Regions from separate parts of the Homo sapiens genome. Here regions 2 and 3 are each linked to region 1. The links are contacts of gene promoters, found by promoter capture Hi-C in blood cells and fetal thymus (Javierre and others, 2016). All regions are on one chromosome and are shown on one strand. Each heading gives the region's core, a stretch centred on a gene start or on the middle of the fragment in contact. The rest is flanking DNA. Distances are from core to core; before and after follow the strand shown. Region 1 holds the start of AZIN2 (antizyme inhibitor 2). Region 2 has its middle 19 kb from the start of ZBTB8A. Region 3 holds the start of TXLNA (taxilin alpha).

What was found. Contacts are between HindIII fragments. The CHiCAGO score rates a contact against its expected background, and 5 or more counts as called.
Region 2: a fragment that was not itself captured here is called in contact with the fragment with the promoter of AZIN2 in region 1 in 3 of 17 cell types (naive B cells, total B cells and M0 macrophages); the score reaches 6.3 in naive B cells.
Region 3: the fragment with the promoter of TXLNA here is called in contact with the fragment with the promoter of AZIN2 in region 1 in 5 of 17 cell types (naive B cells, total B cells, non-activated CD4 T cells and 2 more); the score reaches 7.8 in naive B cells.

The regions. Positions count from the first base shown.
Region 1 is chr1:33,079,502-33,083,221 of GRCh38, reverse strand. It overlaps AZIN2 (antizyme inhibitor 2), which reads right to left and starts at 2,069. Exons shown (of 12, transcript NM_052998.4): 1 at 1,928-2,069; 2 at 1,714-1,834; 3 at 1,410-1,621; 4 at 868-1,044. The coding sequence starts at 972. LOC105378635 (a long non-coding RNA gene) reads left to right here and starts at 2,226. Exons shown (of 3, transcript XR_947163.2): 1 at 2,226-2,301; 2 at 2,895-3,023. RefSeq lists a silencer at 1,848-2,107. The HindIII fragment of the contact is 16,354 bases long and covers 1-2,666 here.
Region 2 is chr1:32,518,858-32,522,391 of GRCh38, reverse strand. No RefSeq gene overlaps it. Among named protein-coding and RNA genes, the nearest start is that of ZBTB8A, 19 kb to the left of the region's middle. RefSeq lists enhancers at 993-1,112, 1,163-1,212. The HindIII fragment of the contact is 798 bases long and covers 1,878-2,675 here.
Region 3 is chr1:32,177,652-32,181,350 of GRCh38, reverse strand. It overlaps TXLNA (taxilin alpha), which reads right to left and starts at 1,676. Exons shown (of 11, transcript NM_175852.4): 1 at 1,575-1,676; 2 at 837-1,037; 3 at 1-109. The coding sequence starts at 1,005. RefSeq lists enhancers at 673-722, 733-892, 1,013-1,092, 980-1,738, 1,739-2,498 and silencers at 1,293-1,472, 1,613-1,802. The HindIII fragment of the contact is 3,390 bases long and covers 1,126-3,699 here.

The sequences.
Region 1 (3,720 bases), core at 820-3,319:
AGGGACAGAGATGACCAAACAGTACTGTTGTTCTGAAGGAGCTTGGGTCTGGAAGAAAAGGAACCCCTTAAGTACTTACAAGTCCATTCAGCAGATGTTAGATGGCAGTTTCTACAAGGTGCAATGCAGGGGCATGGAGAAAGAAAATAGAAAATCTGCCTGGGGCGATCAGGAAAGGCAACACTGATGAGAAGCAAGGAATGACTAGAAAGGGGTAAAGAGGGGAGAGGCTGAGAGAAGGATGCTGCAGGCAGAAGGAACAGCCTGGGCAAAGGCATGGTAATAGCATCATTGGGCACACAGCATCATTGGGAAATGCAAATTGAGTCATTCAGCTCCGAAGGAGCATAATATATACTGTGGGGAAAGCTGGGAATGGGGCTATGGAGGCAGGGAAGCTCTGACTTGATCCTGTAGGCAGTGGAGAATTGCCAAATTCAGATTTTGAACAGGACTATGATACCTTTGGAGGGGGTGGCATGAGACCGGGAGATCAGGGGGCCTTTGGAGAGAGGAAGACTGAACTAGAAAGCGAGGTTCCACATAAGCACACTGGAGGCTTATTTAAGGAGGCAGAATTCACAGAGCTTGGTAATGCCTAGATGTGGGCGGTGAGGGAGAGGGGGCAGCAGGAAAGGAATCCCCCGTTTCTGACCTTGGAGGGCTGGGTAAAAAGGCAACATAGGAGGGGCAGGTTTGGGGGCAAGGACAAAGAATTGGGGATAAATTGAGCCCCTCTCTTGCAAATAGCAAGGATTGCGTACCAAATAAGCGAAAGGATAAGATGAGGGCCCTAGGGACCCTTCCTGAGGAGGCAGCTGATCTGTACAGGGGACCGGGGACCCACCCCCATTCCCAGCCCCTCACCGTGGTGGCCTGTGAGGCCCCCAGAGTGAGTTCCTTCAGCAGGTCTCGGGTACTGAAGCCCTCCTCCACCATCACAAAGTCCGATTCACTCAGGTAGCCAGCCATGCCTTGCAGGAGGAGCTGACGGGCTGGATGGAGCCGCTGCTGCAGCCGCCGCCTTAGAAAGTATGCAACACACTGCGGGGCGAGGGGAGATGAAGGGAACCGCTGGGGGGCCGGCTCTGCTGCCCCACTCGCCTCCCGAGGCCAGGGATCCCAATCCCGTCACAACCCGCCCCCAGCACAAGCCCGGGGTTCACTGGGCAAGGGTGGAGAAAGTCAAGAATCCCGGATTTCAGACGGAGACAAGGCACCGTATGCCCAAATGTCACTGCCTCTCCGAGTCAGTTGCTCCCTCTGTAAAATGGATGAATTGTTTTGGAGAGCCTTCCCAGTTCTGAAATTCTGGATTTCAGGAAAGAGTGAGAGAGAGATGGAACAGAAAATCTGAGAAACTTGGGTGGGGAAGTTTCCAGGGCGCCCCCAGTCTTGACCACGCCCACCTAGAGGGTAGCCGGTGGCCACATCAAGGCGTCTCAGCCTAAGAGCAAGAGCTTAAGTTCGAGTCCGCTCTCTACTGCTTGACCTCGGGTACCCTCTGACCCTTTCGGAGCCGCAGTTTCCCCAATTGTAAATGGGGGCTGGACTGATCCTGAGGTGCTAGAATTCTAGGCGTGCCTGGGGACGCCACGCGGTGGGTGGGGGCCGCAAGCTCCTGGGAGAGAACGGAAGGCCGAGGTTTTTTCTGTCCGAGTGACTCCTACAGAGTGCAGGGCTGAGGTCCCCCCAACCCCCAGGGCCCCTTACCAAACTCCGTCCTCCTTCGCGGGGGCCAGAGCCAGGCGCGCTGCTAGGGGGGGTCGCCGGTGACCTCGAAACTTGTGCAACACCCCGAGGAGGAGTGGCAGTTGCGGAGCCGAGGCCTCTGCTGACAGGAGGCAGAAGGGGCAGGGAGGCAGGTCAGCACCAGGGCGGAGGGCGTCCGCTCCCCGAGGCTCCCCAGGCCACTTTCCGCACTCGCCTTAAAACGCATTTACACGGCTTCGGCCCATAGGTCTCCCCAGGGAGTGAATCGGATCCTCGGCGCCTCCGCTCTCTCGCTTCCCCGGGCTCGGGTCCCGCGGCCTGCGCCCCGCCAGCCCAGCAGCCACAGACCCCCACGCCCCGCCTTCCGCCCGCCGCTGGCTTATATAACCCCGCCCAGGCCCCGCCCATAGTGCCGAGGCCCTACCTCCGCTTGGCCGTAGCCCTGGCAACCGGGTGCCGCCATCCCATTGGTCGATTCCGACATAAAGCATTCAGCTCTGCTCGCCCTTACTGTAGTCTTCTCCCCCGGAGGCCTGGCGGTGGCTACCTCACGCTGGAAGTCAGAACTACAGGGCCGCCGCCACGCAGGTGAGACACTTAGACCCTGCATCTTAGGTCTTAGAGAGTGGGCAGGACCAGGAAGCCTTTTCTGCCTCTGCCTCAACTTACTTCGTGGTCCAGCTCTTGTCTGCGTCAGGAACTGCTCACTCATCTCTCGAAACCCGGTTCCAATGACATGTCCTTGTATTACTTTTGTAATAAAATTCTTTTTATTTAATTGCCTCTTCCAGGCATCTTCCCCGACTCCAACTCAAAACGCATCTAAAATGTCTTCAGAGAACCTTTTTGTGACTTTCCCAGTTCAGGGCAATCCCTCCCTTTATCCCATCCTGTGAACCCGGCAAACTCTTACTCATCTCTCAATAGAAATGTGTCTCCTTCTCCAAGAAGCTTTCCCGGACTTCCTCAACTCAAAGCATTTCTTCTATACCGAAAGCTGCTGCTCACCCATCAAAGTCCTGTATAATGTCACCTCTGTTGAACCTTCCATGACTTGCCTGGCCCCAAGGAACACAGCATTTAGTCTGTCTGGACCCCTCACTCATTTGGTTCTTGTTACCCATAGCGTGAGATTCCTGTTGTTATTTTACACTTCTTGTTTGGTTACACTTTGCATCTAGTTTGTGATTTCCCAAGGGCAAGGACTGAATACCCTGCTCAAGAGCCTGGTGCCTGGCATAGACAAGAATGCTGAGGAAGATTCAATAGCTGTGTTACTCAAAAGCTGATATAAAAGTTCATCTGGAAAAGTAAGTGTACAAGAACAGTCAAGACACTCTTTTTGCCCAGGCTGGAGTGCAATGGCACGATCTCAGCTCACTGCAACCTCTGCCTCCTGGGTTCAAGCGATTCTCCTGCCTCAGCCTCCCAAGTAACTGGGATTATAGGCGCATGCCACCACGCACAGCTAATTTTGTATTTTCAGTAGAGATGGGGTTTCACCATATTGGCCAGGGTGGTCTTGAACTCCTGACCTCCAGTAATCTACCCGCCCCGGCCTCCCAAAGTGCTGGGATTATAGGCGTGAGCCACCGCGCCCGGCCAAAACTACAGTCTTTAAAACAGTATGGTGCTGGAGCAGGAAGAGACAGTGGTAAAACAGAACAGGGTCTACAACAGTCCCATATACATTGGAGATTGGTACACAATGGAGGCAGCATTTCAAATCAATGAAGCCAAAGGGCTTTTGGTCTACCATATGTCTTCATGTCCCCTGCTAGGCTGTGGGCTTTTTTTTTTTTTTTTCTCTTTTGAGACAAGATCTGGCTCTGTCACCCAGGCTGGAGTGCAGTGACATGACCTCAGCTCACTGCAACCTCCACCTCCCAGGCTCAAGTGATCCTCCAACCTCGGCCTCCCAAGTAGCTGGGACTACAAGTGCATGCTACCATACCTTGCTGATTTTTGTATTTTTTGTAGAGACAGGGTTTCGCCCTGTTGCCCAGG
Region 2 (3,534 bases), core at 1,027-3,526, 560 kb after region 1:
AACCTCCACCTCCCAGGTTCAAGTGATTCTCCTGCCTCAGCCTCCCAAGTAGCTGGGATTACAGGCGCCTGCCACCATGCCCAGCTAATTTTTGTATTTTTAGTAGAGACAGGGTTTCACATGTTGGCCAGGCTGGTCTCGAATTCCTGACCTCAGGTGATCTGCCCACCTCTACCTCCCAAAGTGCTGGGATTACAGGCATGAGCCACCACACCCAGCCAAGAGAGATTTCTTATAAGGAATTGGCTCATGGGATTATGGAGGCTCACAAATCCAAATCTGCAGTGTGGGCAGGCTGGAGACATAGGAGAGCTGACAGTGCAGTTCCAGTCCACAGAGTCTGCTGGAGAATCCCCTCAGGAAGGTTGCTCTTTGTGTTCTATTTGGGACTTGAGCTGATTGGATGAATCCCACCCATGTTATGGAAGGCAATCTGCTTTACCCAAAGCTCACAGATTTAAATGTTAATCTCATCAAAACACCCTCCAAGTTGACACACAAAATTGACTAGCACAGGTAATTATCTACTAAAATGGAAACAGGGCTCCAAAGAAAACAGGAATACAGCCAGGCATGGTGGCTCATGCCTGTAATCCCAGCACTTTGGGAGGCCGATGTGGGAGGATCACTTGAGCCCAGGAGTTTGAGACCAGCCTGGCCAACAAATTAGCCAGGCATGGTGGTGCATGCCTATCATCCCAGCTACTCAGGAGGCTGAGGCAGGAGGATCACCTGAGCCTGGGAGGTTGAGGCTGCCATGAGCCATGATTGCACTACTGCACTCCAGCCTGGGGGACAGAGTGAGACCCTCTCTTAAATACATAAATAAACAAACAGGAATAGCAAATGTAGCAAATGGCAAAGACAACAGGACCAGCTATTACCTTTAAGGTTGAAGGAGAGTACTCAAGGAAAGAAGAAACTTGCAAGAGGACTTCCTTTCCCATGCCCCACCAAAGACTGGGATTTAGACCTCTTCAGAGAGGATATGTCTGCCGCCTGCTGGATGGTGAAGTTCATTGAGGTGCCACAGGTGTGGGCTGGAAGATCTGTGGCCACCCACCAGGGTGCCAGCAAACTCACTGCAGGGTGGGCACCATTCCCCATGGAGCTGTACTGTAGGATGAAGAAGAAAGTTGCACTGAAGCCGGGCACGGTGGCTCAAGCCTGTAATCCTCGCACTTTGGGAGGCTGAGGCGGGTGGATTGCCTGAGGTCAGGAGTTCGAGACCAGCCTGGCCAACGTGGTGAAACCCCGCCTGTACTAAAAATACAAAAATTAGCCAGGCATGGTGGCGGGCTGAGACAGAAGAATTGCTTGAACCCCGGAGGCAGAGGTTGCAGTGAGCTGAGACCACGCTATTGCACTCCAGCCTAGGCAACGAGAGTGAAACTCTGTCTCAAAAACAAAAAAACAAAAAAAAACTTGGCCTGGCGCAGTGGCTCACGCCTGTAATCCCAGCACTGTGGGAGGCCGAGGTGGGCGGATCACATGTCAGGAAATCGAGACCATCCTGGCTAACACGGTGAAACCCCGTCTCTACTAAAAAATACAAAAAATTAGCCTGGCGTGTTGGCGTGAGAGCTGTAGTCCCAGCTACTTGGGAGGTTGAGGCAGGAGAATGGCGTGAACCCGGGAGGCGGAGCTTGCAGTGAGCCGAGATCGCGCCACTGCGCTCGAGCCTGGGCGACAGAGCGAGACTCCGTCTTTAAAAAAAAAAAAAAAAAAAAATTACACTGAAATCACTAAGCCCCTGCCTCTGCTATTGCAGTGTCCCTCTGGCGCCCTCTATTGACAGGGCCTAACATTGCTCTAGCTGGGAAAGAAGAAATGTTTATAGAGTCCAGCTGGTTGCACAAAGCAGGGCAAAAAAAGCTTAAGTTTGAAGTTAAGTGATGATAAATTGATAATTTGCATACATTTGAGGAATAAATGAATGTCTTCATCACCAAAACTGTAACTAACTAGGAGGATCATCGGTTATCTGAGATATTCAAGTGAGAAAAATATTTAAATTTAATAAAGAAAGATGTGGGACTCTTCATTGGAAGAAAAGGGGAAAATAGGCGGTTGGACAAACCGCTGGTGACCAGGGAGATAAAAGACTAATAGAAAGCAAAGAGGAGGGGCCTGGTGCGATGGCTTGCGCTTGTAATCTCAGCCCTTTGGGAGGCCAAGGCAGGAGATCGCTTGAGCTCAGGAGTTTGAAACCAGCCTGACCAACATGGCAAAACCCTATCTCTACAAAAAATACAAAAAATTAACCAGGCGTGGTGGTACGCACCTGTGGTCCCAGCTACTCGGGAGTACTACTTGAGCCTGGGAGACAGAGGTTGCAGTGAGCCAAGATCATGGCATTGCACTCCAGCCTGGGCGACAGAGTGAGACCCTCTCAAAAAAAAAAAAAAAAAAGCAAAGAGGAAACAAGAAGCTGGAACAGATACCTGTGAATTTGTACCAGCTCTTTAACAAATGTAATGATCTTACCCTCATCTTACTCATCTCAGAATTAGAAACTTATACTTTATATGTTTATTATTCCAGTGACTATAGTTCCCATACCACACTTCAAAACACATCATCTAACAATAACTGCAGTCATGCACCACATTTTGGTCAACAATAGACTGCATATACAACAGTGGTCTCTTAAGAATATAATGGAGCCGAAAGCTTCCTATTGCTTAGTGATGTTGTAGCTGCGGTAGCATCCTAGCACTGCGGTGACACTGGTGTAAACAAATCTGTGCTAACAGTCATACAAAATTCTAGAACACATAATTATGTACAGTGCAGAATACTTGATAATAAATGACTATGGGCTGGGCACAGTGGCTCACCCCTGTAATCCCAACACTTTGGGAGGCTGAGGTGGAAGGATCACGAGGTCAGGAGTTCAAGACCATCCTGGCCAACATGGTGAAACCCCATCTCTACAAAAAATACAAAATTAGCTGGGCATGGTGGCGCGCGCCTATAATCCCAGCTACTCGGGAGGCTGAGGCAGGAGAATCACTTTAACCTGGGAGACAGAAGCTGCAGTGAGCTGAGATCATGCCACTGCACTCTAGCCTGGGCAACAGAGCGAGACTCCATCTCAAAAAAAAAAAAAGTTACTGGTTTGTGTGTTTAAATACTATACTTTTCATCATTATTTTGGAATGTACTCCTTCTAGTTATATTTTTAAAAGTTTTCTGTAAAACAGCCTCAGGCAGGTCCTTCAGGCGGTATTCCAGAAGAAGATACCATGATCATAGGAGATGACAGCTCCACGCGTGTTATTGCCCCTGAAGACCTTCCAGTGGGACAAGATATATAGATAGAAAACAGTGATATTGGTAATCCTGACCTTGTGTAGGCCTAGTCTAGTCTAGTGTGTGTGTGTGTTGGTGTGTGTGTGTCTTAATTTTTCACAAAAAAAGTTTAAAAAGTAAAATTAGCCGGGTGAGGTGGCTCACGCCTGTAATCCCAGCGACTTTGAGAGGATGAGGTGGGCAAACTGCTTCAGCTCAGGAGTTCAAGACCAGCCTGGG
Region 3 (3,699 bases), core at 427-2,926, 900 kb after region 1:
CCCTGGTTATTGTCCACACAGTATGTGCTCAGTATGTCTTCCAGTTGGCGGCTCAGCTCCTCAGAGACATCACGAAGGGCCCCAGACTGAGCCGTTCTGGCTTGAGCCCCTACAGCAGGAGAGGATGAGGGGTAGAGTGAGAAAGAAGACGATTATACCACTGGTTGGGATTTTTCAGGCCCAGCCAAACTCATCAGTTTGAGTTAAATGTTGCCTAACTTTTTTTTTTATGGAAACTGAGAAGCAAGAATGGAGTATCATTCAGCAAATCTAGTTCCTGTCAGAATTTAGATTCGAAACATCTTTTAAATCAAGAAATTATAGTAATCGTTGCCTAACTTCTTTAAGTCTGTTTACTTGTAAAATGACACAACTATTTCTCACTACCACCCGAACATATTTGTTAGATCATAAAAGTATGTAAAGCATCAGCACACAGGGATGGCACGGAGCAACTTCTAGTCCATCTCCTTCCCCCCCACAAAACCATTTCTTGCCATTCAGATCATTCTAGAAATGCCTCAAACAGGAAGGGCAGTTAGCTGCTGGTGGCTGAGGTGTTTCTAACGGGACCTGGATTTCCTGACTGGGTGCCTCGTTTGGCTGCCACCTGACTTAATCCCGTCGGAGCTTCTCTCCAGAACTCTGTTCCTGTGCTTAGAGGGGGCAGCTCCGCCAACTCGCCAGAGCGCAGGGGGGACCGCGGCCCCCAGCACTGTCCTCTCATTCTACATCTCCTCCTCCCGGACAACCTGGCCTCGGCCTGTAAGTCCAGAAGCGAGGCCGACCCCACAGCTCCTCCCCCTGCCCGCTGGCAACGCAGAGCTGGCACACACCCTCCGGCTTCCGAGGAGCCTGGCTGCTGCCGGGACCTTCTGCTTCTACTGCAGGAGCCGCCTGGCTGGGCCGCTCCTGGGCTCCCTCGGGTCCTGCTTCCGGTTGTCCTGGGCTGCTTTTTGGATTGGATTGTTTGGCAGCCCCGTTCTTTTTGTCTTGGTTCTTCATTGTGATGAGCGATGCTGGGTCAGGAGAAGATCCTTTAGAAACAAACACAGTTGCTATTTTCCAGACTTCGAAATTCTTCGCAGCCTGGATCAGAAATCCCCACAGCAGGCGCACAAAGCTTCTTAAAATAAACGGACCGGCAGGCCCGGGCGGAGGGCGCCAACGGCTCTCTGGTCTTGGCGGGTCAGGAGAGCCCGACGTGCCGGGGCAGGCTTTCGGGGCGCAGCTCCCACAGCGGGTGAGGGAAGAGGCCTCTTCTCCCTGGAGCCACTTCCCGGCACAACCGGCCCCCTCGCGGCAGGCCGGGCGCGGGATTGGCTCAGGGCCGGAGACTGACGTGGCGGGACTCCCGGCACCGCCCCCGCCCCTCAGGCCCCACGTGCGCCCCCCGCGCGCGCAGCCACCCACGCCCCGCGCGCCCTCAAGCCGCGAGGCACGCCCGCGCATGCGCATATCCCCAGACAGCCCCCGGCCCACGCGGGGAGTTGGCGTGATTTCCCCACAGGCCGAGAACATCCCGGCCCGCACACTCTCAAATAGTCTCGCCCACCGGCCGCCGCTGCACGTACCTCACCGCCGACGTCCGATGGCTTCCCCACCTCTGGCCTCGCACCGGAAACCCCGAGTAACTGCTGCCGGCCAGCCGCCTGCTCCCGCCTCAGCCAATCAATAGCCGGCGCCGGCGCGGAGCTTGCTGGGAAGGACGAAGCGAGGGCGGCCTCGGAGGCGGGCGCCCCGGCAGGGCGGGGCAGGGAAAAGACTACGCGTCCCTCTTTACGCAGGGGCTAGCCGCAGATCCCAAGGTGCATAAGGGACTGTAGTCCTGGGAGTCCAAAAGGAGCCCGTCATTCTGCACGAGTGCCCATGTCAACCTTGTTTCTATCTCGCAGAAGCTATGCTTCAACTCCCAAAGCCTTGCGCCTGGCTGTTGTTTCCTGCAGGCCTCCATCAAACCTTCCTCCCTGGCCGTGAACAAATGTGACTCCATCCGGGAACTCCGAGGACTCGGGAAGAGGGATAGAGTCCTGGGCTGAGACTCAGGAGACCCATACTCCAGTCCCAACTTCATCACGGATTTGCTGTGTGGCTGGACGTTCTGTTCTCTCTCTGGGCCTCAATGTCCTTCTTCCAAAGGAGGCTTTTAATAACAATAGCAGTTCCTTGAACGCTTACTGTGTGCTTTCCCGCTATCTAATAGCTTGGTTCTCATAACCACTCATAGAAATAACTACTATCTGTTATCCCCATTTTACGGAAAAGGACAGTAAGAGAAAGGTTAGGTAACTTATCCAAGGTCATATCGATAGTGAGTGGTTAAAACAGGGATTCAAAACTGGTAAGTCTGAGACCAGCACCCAGGTAATTACCTGGTCTTTCACCCAGAAGAAACACTACCACAGCAGGTTTCCCTGAGGCAGTCAAGGTAACTTGTGAAAGTAGGTCATATTTTCCCCTCTCCATTACCATTTTGGCAGTCAGTTCCTCAGAAAGGTGCTGAGTTAGGCTTCAGGCATATTCATGAGCCTTTTCTCTACCCCACACTCTACAAAGTCTCACTGGGGTTAAAGTAGAAAAAACCCCCACAGTTCCCTACACATGAGATCACAATTCTGTATCCCCATTGCTTCTGGATAATGAAATCAAACCCAACAATCCTTGTGCCTGGAATTTGAAGCCTAAGAGATTTGACTTTTGCCAAACCCAAAATTTTTTGAGGCCCAGTTCAAAGGTCACTTCAGAGCCTTCCCAGTGCTCTGCAAACCGTACTTGCTCCCTAGGTCTGCAGAGTTGTTACAGCATTAGCAGTGAGGTGTTGAAATTACTATTTACTTATAAGTCAGTTAATTTTGCAAGAACTGTTGGCTAAATAGTCTAGTCCCAGAGCCTCGCATCAGGCTGTGGGTAGAGAAGATTGTAAACTGTTGTGCTAATTGAGCGTTGGTTTAGGGCTGTTAGGATGTTAAATATTTCCCCCAAAGGCTCAGTGAAAGACTTCAGAGCCGTGCATGTTGGATTTCAGATTTTCAGATTGGGGAAGCTCAACCGGTAAAATTTGAGAAAATCCCAAATTGGAAACACTTCTGGTCCCAAGCATGTTGGATAAGAGATATTCAATTTTTAGTATAATGATGGAACTGAGGCTCAGAAAGGTTGGAATCTAGATGTCCTGAAACCAAGGCCCTGATTATTTCTAGAAAAGCATTCTGGAAATCTCTTGAGAAGGCACCATATAAATCAGGCCTTGATAGATTTCCATATAACAAGGGTGTTCTAGGTGAGATAAAGAACATAAAAATGTATGCATGGGGTGAGGGATAGAGGATGTAGTAGAAGGGTCAACAATAGCCTAGAGGGGCCAGTTGGGTAATGAGAACAGGCAAGAATAATTGACAGAAACATAGGTTAACAAGTTACTTTCTCCTTTGCTATAAACAATATATAGCAACAATATTAGCACCTGCCAGAGTGAGGGAGAGGTGGTGATTGCAGTAAAATACAGCAGCTCTTGCACATTGTTAGCAAGCAGAAACTCAGGCCGGGTAGGGCCAGATTGTATTTTTGTTTTTTAGACAGGTTTTACTCAGCTGCTGGGGCTGGAGTGCAGTGATCATAATAGCTCACTGCAGACTCGACCACCTGGACTCAAGTGATCCCCTTGCCCCAGCCTCCCAAGTAGCTAGGATTACAGGTATG